Linked DNA regions of Homo sapiens: all the other regions are linked to region 2. Evidence: promoter capture Hi-C in human tissues and cell types (Jung and others, 2019). All regions are on one chromosome and are shown on one strand. The core of a region is centred on a gene start or on the middle of the fragment in contact, and the rest is flanking DNA. Distances in the headings are between cores, read along the strand shown.

What was found. The method cuts DNA at HindIII sites, captures the fragments that hold promoters and counts their contacts. A contact is called where the count stands out against the background at its distance.
Region 1: a fragment that was not itself captured here is called in contact with the fragment with the promoter of IGDCC4 in region 2 in 2 of the 25 tissues and cell types used here (heart left ventricle and neural progenitor cells).
Region 3: a contact is called between a fragment that was not itself captured here and the fragment with the promoter of IGDCC4 in region 2, in 3 of the 25 tissues and cell types used here (H1 embryonic stem cells, bladder and thymus).
Region 4: a fragment that was not itself captured here is called in contact with the fragment with the promoter of IGDCC4 in region 2 in 6 of the 25 tissues and cell types used here (H1 embryonic stem cells, bladder, lymphoblastoid cells and 3 more).

The regions. Positions count from the first base shown.
Region 1 is chr15:65,356,438-65,359,296 of GRCh38, reverse strand. The region is part of intron 2 of IGDCC3 (immunoglobulin superfamily DCC subclass member 3); the gene reads left to right. Among named protein-coding and RNA genes, the nearest start is that of IGDCC3, 20 kb to the left of the region's middle. RefSeq lists an enhancer at 2,762-2,859. The HindIII fragment of the contact is 8,320 bases long and covers 1-2,859 here.
Region 2 is chr15:65,421,443-65,424,227 of GRCh38, reverse strand. IGDCC4 (immunoglobulin superfamily DCC subclass member 4) reads left to right here and starts at 1,281. Exons shown (of 20, transcript NM_020962.3): 1 at 1,281-1,435. The coding sequence starts at 1,366. RefSeq lists enhancers at 469-1,003, 1,979-2,248, 2,269-2,378. The HindIII fragment of the contact is 12,230 bases long and covers 1-2,785 here.
Region 3 is chr15:65,537,561-65,540,504 of GRCh38, reverse strand. All of the region lies in intron 1 of HACD3 (3-hydroxyacyl-CoA dehydratase 3), which reads right to left. Among named protein-coding and RNA genes, the nearest start is that of HACD3, 8.6 kb to the right of the region's middle. The HindIII fragment of the contact is 3,444 bases long and covers 1-2,944 here.
Region 4 is chr15:65,321,022-65,323,754 of GRCh38, reverse strand. No RefSeq gene overlaps it. Among named protein-coding and RNA genes, the nearest start is that of RNU5B-1, 18 kb to the right of the region's middle. The HindIII fragment of the contact is 4,268 bases long and covers 1-2,733 here.

The sequences.
Region 1 (2,859 bases), core at 150-2,649, 65 kb after region 2:
GACAACAAAGCATTCTGTGAACCCAAGTTGCTGTGGAAATGGGGGAAAAAAAGGACACATACTCTCATTATTATACTCATTATGTTCCTATCAGAATACTCACCCATGGAGCATTATTTTTAAAGTTACTCATGGTCTTGGGTTTGGGAAAGGAAGAGATCATTTAAAAGCATTTTCTCAGGCCAGGTGCAGTGGCTCACACCTGTAGTCCCAGCACTTGGGGCAGGTGCATCACTTGAAGTTAGGACTTCGAGACCAGCCTGGCCAACATGGTGAAACCCTGTCTCTACTAAAAATACAAAAATTAGCCAGACATGGTGGTACACACCTGTAATACAAGCTACTCGGGAGGCTGAGGCACAAGAATTGTTTGAACCAGGGAGGTGGAGGTTGCACTGAGCCAAGATCGCGCCACTCCACTCCAGCCTGGGTGACAGAGCGAGACTTCATCTAAAAGAAAAATAAACTAATTAATTAGATAAACTAAATCAAAGCACTTTTTCAGTTACTTAAAAGGCTGAGGTGGGAGGATCGGTTGAGCCCAGGAGTTCGAGGCTGCAGTGAACCAGTGCACTCCAGCCTGGGTGACAGAGAGAGACCATGTCTCAAAAATTAAAATAAAATAAAACATAAAGACACTTTTTCAGTTAAAAGTATTGAGTCTCTAATTTAGGCCCGGAGGCTCCTCTTGCTTTTTGAATGTGCCATTTCTCAAAATATAATTTATCTGAGGATTGGCCATTCAGGCACCCTTGTTGAAATCTAGGCAACCCACAAAGGCATATGTATAGAGATAAATAGTGACAAATGTATTTGTAGTTACAGTTTGAACAGCCATTTTAGTCTTGCAAAATGAAGCTAGTGGCCTGTATAGCATTAAAATGGTTTTGGGGCTCCGTGCAGTGTCTCATGTCTCTAATCCCAGCACTTTGGAAGGCTAAGGCAGGCAGATCACTTGAACCCAGGAGTTAGAGACCAGCCTGGGCAACATGGCAAAACTCCATCTCTACCGAAATACAAAAAATTAGCCAGGCATGGTGGTGGGTGCCTGTAGTCCCAGGTACTTAGGGAGCTGAGGTGGGAGGATCGCTTGAGCCTGAGAGGTTGAGGCTGCAGTGAGCTGAAATCACGCCACCGTACTCCAGCCTGGGTGACAAAGTGAGACCCTGTCTCAGAAAAAAAAAAAAAAAAATATGTCTTGGATCTGCTACTAACTAACTAGCTGTTGTTTTCTTGGATCTTTTTTCTCTCTAGAAATGGGGGCTTTAAGCCTCTCCCTAGAATCCTGAAGGTGGAGGGGAAAAGGGAGGTCAAAGTGGGGTTCCAGGCATCCTACATCTACCCCATCAATGGCAGCTTAGCTTTTATCTTTTTGTTTTGTTTTGTTTTGGAGTTCTCTAAACTGACTAACTAGGCAGATAGGTCTAACAGGGAGTAGTTCGGCAGCTGCAGGTGCTGTGATGCCAAGAGGGCTTAAGGGCCTAGAGTCTTAGGTAGAAGAAGTATAACTCTAAGATGAACATTTAGGAGAGTTATAAAGAAAAACATTTTTATCACATCTGTGGTTATGACCAAGGTTAGATTAAGCCTTGATTCAGGAAAACAATGAGTTATACTTAAATTTTGGAAAGCTTTTCATGTATCACTGTCACTACTAGTGCTTGGTAGTGTTAAATACAGTTAGTTGGTCAGAGCAAGGAACAACTTGGCTCCTGCTCGTTTGGTCCCTCAATAAGTGTTGCCCATTCTTTTATTTTATTCTCAAATAAATGGATGGATAGATGGATACTTCTATGCAAGGGTTTGGCTATGGGCAGTCTAGAAAATGCTTATAATCGAATTATGGTGACATGGACATTAGAAAATGCTGCAGCCTCAGAAAGGGCTCTGTGATATGTGTCAAATAAATGGTGCTAACCAAGGGCTATTGGTTTAGCCAACAGCCTTCTGTTGATCTGGGCAACACTAATTATTTAACAGATAAAGAATTGATTAATCATTTAATAAATCTGATAGAACACTGGAACATAAGCATATCATTCTTCCTTTAGGTGGAATTAGTCAAAGAGCCCATCAGAAGAGATTAGGAAGTCCATGTTTCCAGAAAAAGAATATGCAGAATTGAGGGGTATTAAAGCAGGTCCAGGCCGGGTGTGGTGGCTCACACCCGTAATCCCAGCACTTTGGGAGGCTGAGGTGGGCGGATTGCCTAAGGTCAGGAGTTCGAGACCAGCCTGGCCAACATGGTGAAACCCCATCTCTACTAAAAACACAAAAAAATTAGCTGGGCATAGTGGTGCCTGCCTGTAATCCCAGCTACTTCGGAGGCGGAGGCAAGGGAATCGCTTGAATCCAGGAGGCAGAAGTTGCAGTGAGCCGAGATCAGGCCACTGCACTGCAGCCTGGAAGACAGAGCAAGACTCCATCTCAAAAAAAAAAAAAAAAAAAGCAGGTCCATTCTCAAATCTCACATCAGCAAATCTCTAAGAGTATCTATCCTGCACCTATCTGCCTCTGTGCCAAGTACTCTGTGAAGGATAGCACAGAAAGATAAGACACTTCCTGATCTTGAAGGGTGTAATCTCCCCACCCACCCCCCCAACCCTCGCCTTTAAAAAAAAACCCACTTTGTTTGGTGGTGATGGTGAAAAAGCAGCCTGACGTAGCACAAAGTATCTCTTGAATGCATACATAGTGTGACCATCGGCTTGTCCATCTGCACCGTGGTTTCCTTTAGTTCTGATTGATTTCTAAGTTGAGCCACCTCGTGTCCTCACCTGTGAAAAAAGAAGTGCCTCAGCCTTACCGGGCTTCTCATGGTGCCTTGGCTTCCAGGAGCATCTCGGTCAAAACAGTGGC
Region 2 (2,785 bases), core at 32-2,531:
TGGGCATCATTAGCATAAAGATGCTCTTTAAAGCCTTGAGGACCAGATGAGATCACTAAGGGAAGCAAGTGTTTCAAGGAAGAGGGAGTGATTCACTAAGTCAAATGCTGCTGATAGGGCAAGTGAAGATGGGGCGTGGCAATGAATGAATAAACGCCAGGCCTGTTAGATATGCAAAGCGCCAGTGATTATTGAGGGTTAACTGACAACAGACAGGTGTAGAGACAAGATGGCTCTAAGTCACAGGAACACTTAGAGACACAGGGAAGGGAAGAACTATGGCATCTTGGAGTTGGAAAGGACCTTAACTAGGTCATTGAATCTGTACTCTTTTCCCCACCCTAGCCTGACAATTGAACCCTTGGCTGTAGAACAAGAAATATTTGCGGGATACTGAGGCAAACAGTCTGGCTAGGTAGGTTAGAGAAAGTACCGTTGAAGAATGAGAAAAAGGGTACTTCAGTAAATGCTGGACAGCAGAGGCAGGGTGAGGGAGTGGAGATGACCTTCCGAAGTCAGAAAACCAAGGTTCAGGTCCTGTATCTGCTGCTCCCTAGCCTCCTGTCCTTGGGCAAGTCACTTCACCTTCTCCAGCCTCAGTTTCCCCATGCGGCGACATCTGAATATGGTAGTGCTTGAAGGTAGTGTAAAAGTGTCCTGCCTGTGTTAGTTACTGCCAGAGCAAGGGAAGGAGGCCAAGAGAAGCCCTTGGTTTGGGATGGCAGATAGGACTATCAAGATCTCCGCAGGTGGGCTGGCGCAACGTGTGGAGAAGCGAACCAGCATTCAGGCCAGGACCTGGGCTGGAATGGACTGGGCTCGGGTGGCAAGGGGGCCATCTGGACAAAGACCGTGGCCCTGAATCTGCCTCCCCTGAGCCTGGAACGGAGGTGGAGACCCCGAGGCAGCAACAGGGAGAAGAAATAGAGACGCTGAGGCAGAGAGACCAGAAGACTCAGAGACGGGGAGACTAAGAGACAGACCCAGCAACAGGCGGCCTCACGGGGGCCCGCGGCGACCCGGAGAGGGCGAGGCACCGGGACACAGACCCGGGCCGAGAGGAGCCCCCGCGAGGCGCAGGGCCGTGGCGCGCGGGCGCAGGGTCCCCGGCGGGGCCAGGGTGGCCACACTCGCCGGGCGCCCCCTCCCGGGCCGCTCGCCCAAGATGGCGATGGAGGGGCGGGTGAGGCGGCAGCGGCCCTGGCCCCCGCGCCGGCCCCAGCTCGGGCCCGGGCCCCCGAGGCCGCGCCCCCGCCCGCGGCGCCGCGCCTCCCCGGGCCACTGACGCCCGGCGCGCTCTCCCCCCGCGGCGGCGGCCGAAGCACGGGGAGGCGGCGGCGGCGGCGGCGGCCCGAGCCCAGCCCCATGGCGCGGGGGGACGCCGGCCGCGGCCGCGGGCTCCTCGCGTTGACCTTCTGCCTGTTGGCCGCGCGCGGTAAGGGCGGGCGCCCGGAGAGGCAGGAGCGACTGCGGAGTGCTGGTGCGCCCGCGCCCTGGTCTGCATCGGGCTGCGGGGCTGGCTCAAGCCGGAGTCCCGAGCAAGTGCGGGGGCTGCGCGTCCAGGTGCCCGCGATGCCTGCGCGGGGGTCTGCGAGCTGCGGCCGGGGGGCGTTTGTGGGGCGTGCTTGTCCGCAGTGGGTGTGTGCCTTTGGTTCGCAGAGTCTGGAGTCGTGTGTGTGTGTGTGTGTGTGTGTGTGTGTGTGTGTGTTGGGAGTGCTCCTGTCGTGTCCGCAGTGCGTGCCATGGTCGCGGCGTGGCATCGGCGGGGCGGGTAGCTGCGGTGTCGGTGGCTTTCGCGGGGCGGGCTCTGCCTTGCCTGCGCGTGTCTTGGGTTGAGAGTGTGTGTAAAAGAGGAGGGAACTGGGGTTGTGTCTGCACCTCCATTTGGGTCGGGTGCGTGTGCAATTGTGTTTATGGGGCTGAGCTAATATTTGGCCTTGGCATTTGGGAAGTGTCCTTGCCCATAGTGGGGGACAGAGCGATGGATCCCGTTTGACTGGGGGTGGTGGTGATAAAACAACACTCAACTTTGCCCAGTGGGTGTGGTCCCTGGGGCCGGTTAGAGAGGGGTAGAGGGAGGTGTTGCTCCCCAAAACCTGTGGCCAGCAGTGGACTGGGGGAGGGGGCAGGAAACCATTTGCTTTCGTGGACATGTCCAGCGCTTGTTCTCACGATGGGACGCGTGTCACCCCGGCCCCACCCCCCAGGGACCGACCAGGGAAGCGTGGACGAGGTCAGCAGGGCCTCATCCAGTCCGCAGCCCAGTGCGGAGTGGGTACGGGGTAAGTCAGAGTTGTCCAAGCTGGAGAAAGGGCTGGGGAGGGGATAGCGAAGTCCCCAAGGGTGTGTGTCTAGGGCTGCGGCTTCCACCCACAGCTCTGTCGCTTCCTGTCCGGTGTGCGTTTGGGGGCGGCTCATGGGGAGTGTAGGTGGCAGGGCTGGGAGGGGGATGGGCTGGCCGCTTTGTTCGCCTAGTTCTTGCCTTCCCCGCGGAGGGGGGAGCTGAGGATGTGTCCGGGGAGAGTCGGGGAGGGACTTGGAGGTGGGGGTGGGGAGGGGGATTTCTCTCCAGCTGCTGCGGCTTTCCAGAGAGACTCAGCCAGGCCACGTGGGAGGGAGGCGGGGGGAAGGAGCCTCCGCCTGGCCAGCCCCAGGCCCATCTCCAGGAAAACCAAACAGCGGGTGGGAAAGTGCCGGGAACTCCTCGGACCCCTTCTGTCCCTACAAAGACACGCCCCTTTCCAGCCCCAACAGCGGATTAAGCTGGAGGCCGCCGCGAGGCTGG
Region 3 (2,944 bases), core at 414-2,913, 120 kb before region 2:
TAACTTTCAAGTTTCACCCGGCTAGAATATCACCTCTTCAAGGAAGCCTTCCCTGACCACTCTATTTAAAATAGCCTCTACCAATTATTCTCTATTTCATCACCCTCTTTATTTCCCTCATAGCACTTTATCTAGGTAATTATTTATTAACATATCTATTGTCTGTCTCCCTCAATCTGAAGGTAGTGCCTTTATATGTGTTGCTCATTACTGAATATCTAGTACTTAGCACTGTGCCTGGACCATTGTGAGTGGTCAACAGTTACCAGATTATTTAACTTACTGCTTTATAAGTAGTTTTTGTACTGTGGTAATAAACAGCTTAGACTTATTGATTTCTATTATTAAATATTTCAAGCAAAATCAAACAGAAAAATATAGCAAACACCACTATATCTAACATCCATTAGCATTTTGCTTTATTTGCCTCAATTTTTAAAAAAAGAAATAAAACAGAAACAGATACATTATACAATTTCTCAATCCCAATGCCCTCTCCCTCAAACATGCCCCAACTTCGCAGGTAACCACTACTCCAGGATTGGAGTTGGTCGTTTCCACTGTATTTATTTATTCATTAAAACACGTTGGGCATTCACAATATACAGTATGATTTGACATGTCACAAAAATAATTTCATACTGCCTATATCATTCTTCAACTTGCTTTTTATTTGATATTATATTTCTAAGCTTTAATTCTATAAAGATGGTTCTGTTTCATTCATTGTAGCTGTTGTACAGTGTGCCATTGTATAAATATACCACAATTTATCCATTCTTCCAGCTGACAAAAATTGAGGCTGTTTTCAATTTTTTGCTGCAATGAACATTCTACCTCCACCTGCATGTGTAAGAGCTTCTCTAAAAAGCAAAACTTCCAACTCATAAAGACATACAACTTCAGCTTGACAAGATAGTGTAAAACTGTTCTCCAAATCAATTGTACCAATTAGTACTTCCACCAACTGTATAAAAAAAGTCCGGCTGGGCACGGTGGCTCACGTCTGTAATCCTAGCGCTTTGGGAGGCCAAGGCAGGCAGATTACTTGAGGTCAGGAGTTCGAGACCAGCATGGCCAACATGGTGAAACCCCATCTCTACTAAAAATACATAAATTAGCAGGGCATGATGGCGGGCGCCCGTAGTCCCAGCTACTCGGGAGGCTGAGGCGGGAGAATCACTTGAGCCCAGGAGGCGGAGATTGCAGTGAGCCAAGATTGAGCCATTGCAATCCAGCCTGGGGTGACACGGTGAGACTCCATCTCAAAAAAAAAAAAAAAAAAAAAAAAAAAGTCCTGTCACTGAACATTCTCAGAAACACTTGGTCATGTCAGGCTTTTTCAATTTTCCTACTCTAATGTGAGAAACAGTATCCTATCATTTTAATTTACAGGCATACCTTGGAGCTATTGTAGGTTCTGTTCCAGACCACCACAATAAAGCTAATATCACAATAAAGTGAGTCACACAAAGTTTCTGGTTTCCCAGTATATATAAATGTTATGTTTATATTATACTATAGTCTATTAAGTATGCAGTATTATTCTAAAAAACAGTGTACATACCTTAACTTTAAAATATTTCATTGCTAAAAAATGCTAATGATCATGTGAGCTTTCAGGGAGTTGTAATCTTTTTGCTGGTGGCGGGTCCTGCCTCAATGTTGATGGCTGTGGACTGATCCAGGTGGTGACTGCTGAAGGCTGGAGTGGCTGTGGCAATTTCTTAAAGGAGGACAACAATGAAGTTTGTCTCATTGATTGAGTCTTTCCTTCACTAAAGATTTCTTTGCAGCATGCAATGCTGTTTGATACTGTTTTACCCAGAGAATAATTTCTTTTAAAATCAGAGTATACTCTCAACCCCTGCCACTGCTTTATTAACTAAGTTTATGAAACAGTATAAACCCTTCATTGTCATTTCAACAATGTTCAGAGCATCTTCATCAGAAATAGATTCCATCTCAATAAATCACTTTCTTTGCTCATCCATAAGAAGCAACTCCTCATCCCTTCAAGTTTTATCATGAGATTGCTGCATTCAGTCACACCTTCAGGCTCCACTTCTAAGTCTAGTTCTCTTGCTATTTCTACCACACCTGCAGTTACTACCTCCACTGAAGTCTTGAACCCCTCAAAATCATCCATGAGGGTTGAATTCCACTTCTTCGAAACTCCTGTTCATTTTTATATTTTGACCTCTTCCTATGAATCACAAATGATCTTAATGGTATCTAGAATGGTGAATCCTTTCCAGAAAGTTTTCAATTGACTTTGCCCAGATCCATCACAGAATCACTACCTACGACAGTTTTAACCTTACGGAAAGTATTTTCTAAATAAGACCTGAAAGTCAAAATTATTCCTTGATCCATGGGCTGCAAAAGGAATGTTATGTTAGCGGGCATGAAAACAACATTAATCTCCTTGACATTTCCATCAGCACTCTTGGGTGGGACTAGGTGCACTGTCAATGAGCAGTAATATTTTGAAAGGAATATACATATATATATATATATATATATATATATATATATATATATATTTTTTTTTTTTTTTTTTTTTTTTTCTGAGAAGTTGGCCTCAACAGTGGGCTTAAAATATTCAGTAAACCATTCTGTAAACAAATGTGCTATCATCCAGGAGTCGTTGTTCCACTTACAGAGCATAGGCAGAGTAGATTTAGCATAATTCTTTTTTTTTTTTTTTTTGAGACAGAGTCTCTCTCTATTGCCCAGGCTGGAGTGCAGTGGTGCGATCTCAGCTCACTGCAACCTCTGCCTCCCAGATCCAAGCGATTCTCCTGCCTCAGCCTCCCAAGTAGCTGGGATTAAAGGCGCCCGCCACCATGCCCAGCTAATTTTTTTTATTTTTTAGTAGAGACGGGGTTTCGCCATGTTGGTCAGCCTGATCTTGAACTCCTGACCTCAGGTGATCCACCTG
Region 4 (2,733 bases), core at 178-2,677, 100 kb after region 2:
ACTGCAACCTCCCCCTCCCAGGTTCAAGCGATTCTCCTGCCTCAGCCTTCTGAGTAGCTGGGATTATAAGCACCACCATGCCCAGATAATTTTTTGTATTTTTAGTAGAGACGGGGTCTCACTGTTTTAGCCAGGATGGTCTCGATCTCCTGACCTCGTGATCCACCTGCCTCGGCCTCCCAAGGTGCTGGGATTACAGGTATGAGCCACCATGCCCGGCCTTTTTTTTTTTTTTTTTTTTTTTTTTTTAAGAGACAGGGTCTCACTGTGTTGCCCAGGCTGGAGTGCCGTCAAACCTTGGTGGTTTCACATCACATTTATTTGGCTTACAAATATGCAGTCTGGGCAGGGCTCAGGGGCAGCTGTCTCTGCTCCACTCTGCATCAGCGTGGGCAGCTTGAAGCCTGGGGGCTGGGATCCCCTGAAGGCTCCCTCCCTCCCGCGTCTGGTGGCTGATGCTGGCTGTGAGCCCAGCACCTCCACATGGCCTCTCCGTGTGGCCTGGGCTTCCTCACAGCATAGTGGCTGGGTTCCAAAGACAAGCGTCCTGAGAGAGAGAGCCAGGTGGAAACTGCAACATCATTTCTACGCCGGCCCAAGTGACACAGCATCACTTCTGCTATAGTCAGCTCTTTAGAACAAGTCGCTAAGGCAAGCCACATTCAGGGAATTCAAGGGGAATTAAAGTCTTCTTTTCAATGGAGAGTCAAAGAATGTATGGACTGTTTTAAAATGACCACAGGGGCCGGGTGCAGTGGCTCACCCGCCGGGGAGAATTACTTGAGCCCAGGAGGTGAAAGTAGCAGTGAGCCGAGATCATGCCACTGCACTCCAGCTTGGACTATAGAGTGAGACTCCATCTCAAATAAATAGATAAATAAATAAATAAAATGACCACAGGGCCACTCCGGAGGGACAGGTGGGGAACAAATATGAGCCAGGAGGCAGGGAGGGGAGGAAAGCTTTACCCCATGGCCCTGGGACTGTGCATGAGGCTGGTGGGGACACAGCTGGGGACGGCAGGAGACAGAGGGTGCCCCGAACTCCTATGGGGACACTGGGGCTGGACACAGGGAATGAGTGAGTGGGGGCAGCTAAGGCTGGGGGCCTGCCTTAAATTCTGGGTTAAGGCTTGAGTCAGGGAGGGGAACAGCTAAACCCATGGTCCTCTCTCAAAGAGGTATTAGAGGGCTGGGCACAGTGGCTCACTGTGTAATCCCAGCACTTTGGGAGGCCAAGGCAGGAAGACAGCTTGAGGCCAGGAATTCGAGACCAGCTGGACGACATGGCAAAATCGTCTCCACACAAAATTTAAAAATTAGCCAGGCATGGTGACACATGCCTGTAATCCCAGCTACTCAGGAGGCTGAGGTGTGAGGATCGCTTGAGCCTGGGAGGTTGAGGCTATAGTGAGCCAAGATCGTGCCATTGCACTCCAGTTTGGGTGACAGAGGGAGAACCTGTCTTAAAAAAAAAGGTACGAGGGGACTTGGGGACTGATCTGAGGGCTTTGTTGCTCCCCTGAGCCCCCCTGGAGCTACCTTGGAACGGAGAGGGAGCAGGGAGAAGAAGGGGCTGAGAGGAGGCCGAGGAGGAGCCTGGCTGGCAGAGAAGGGAAGGGCTCCTTGGACTCAAGAGGGATGGACACTGAGTTCCCACAAACGTGGATGGCCCCTTGGTCACCGTGCACCACGTGCCACCACCACAAGGCAGGGTTGGCCCTGGCTATTACTCCAGAATAGCCACCCTCTGACCAGGCTCTGCTCCCCACAGCTTCTCCTCGTCATGGTGCCTCTTCCTGCAGATGTCTCTCTCGCTCTCTGGAGGGGCTTCCTTCCCCGAGGCCCAGGATGCCCTATGCTGCATTTTGTCTCATTGCCTCAAAAGCTGGCTCCCCATTATGTGGACTTGTGCTGCCAGCACTTTCTTCATAACCACTGAAGGAATCAGAGTGTCTAACTGGGAGTACTGGGGACACTGTCACAAAGCTACCAAGAAAGCATACTTTGGTTCAATCCCGGCTGCTATAGTAGTGTCTTGGGTCAAGAATTGGAGAGTTTTGTGCCTGGAAGCTTGAGGTCATCTCTCCCGTGGCCAGCAAGTCCCCAGTTATTGGGCTGAGGCTGGGGTGAGGAGAACCAGAGCCCCAGCAGGATCAGAGAACAGTGAGGTGTCTCCTTCCATGCCTAGCTGGGGTGTCACCTTATATGGGGGACCTTCTCCAACTCAGCTGGTGGCTATGCCTTCAGCCCTTTGCCACCTGGGAGCTAGTACAGAGCTCAGAGCCAGTGCCCTGCTATTGAGAGCAACGAGCTGTCACTGTTCCCTGTCTTCTAGTGAGAAGCATGGCACCCTCTGGAGCTAAGAAGGTGGTGGCCATGGCCCAGGCTGTGGACACTAGAGTCCAACTGATGTGGTTTGAACCCCTGGCTCTGCTATTTCCTAGTTGTGTAACCGTGAGCAAACGATTTAACTTCTTTACACCTCTGTTTCCTTGTCTGTAAAATAGAGATAATATGCCCCTACCTCAAAGGGTTGTCGACCCAGCTGGGTTCTTTGCAGAAATTGATGAGCTGATTCGAAAATTTATACGGAAATGCAAGGGATCCCAAATAGCTAAAACAATCTTGAAAACAAAGAACAAAGTTGGAGGACTCATACTTTCTTGGTTTACTACAAAGCTACAATAATTAAAAAGTGTATTCCTGGCATCTGGGCAAACATATATCTCAA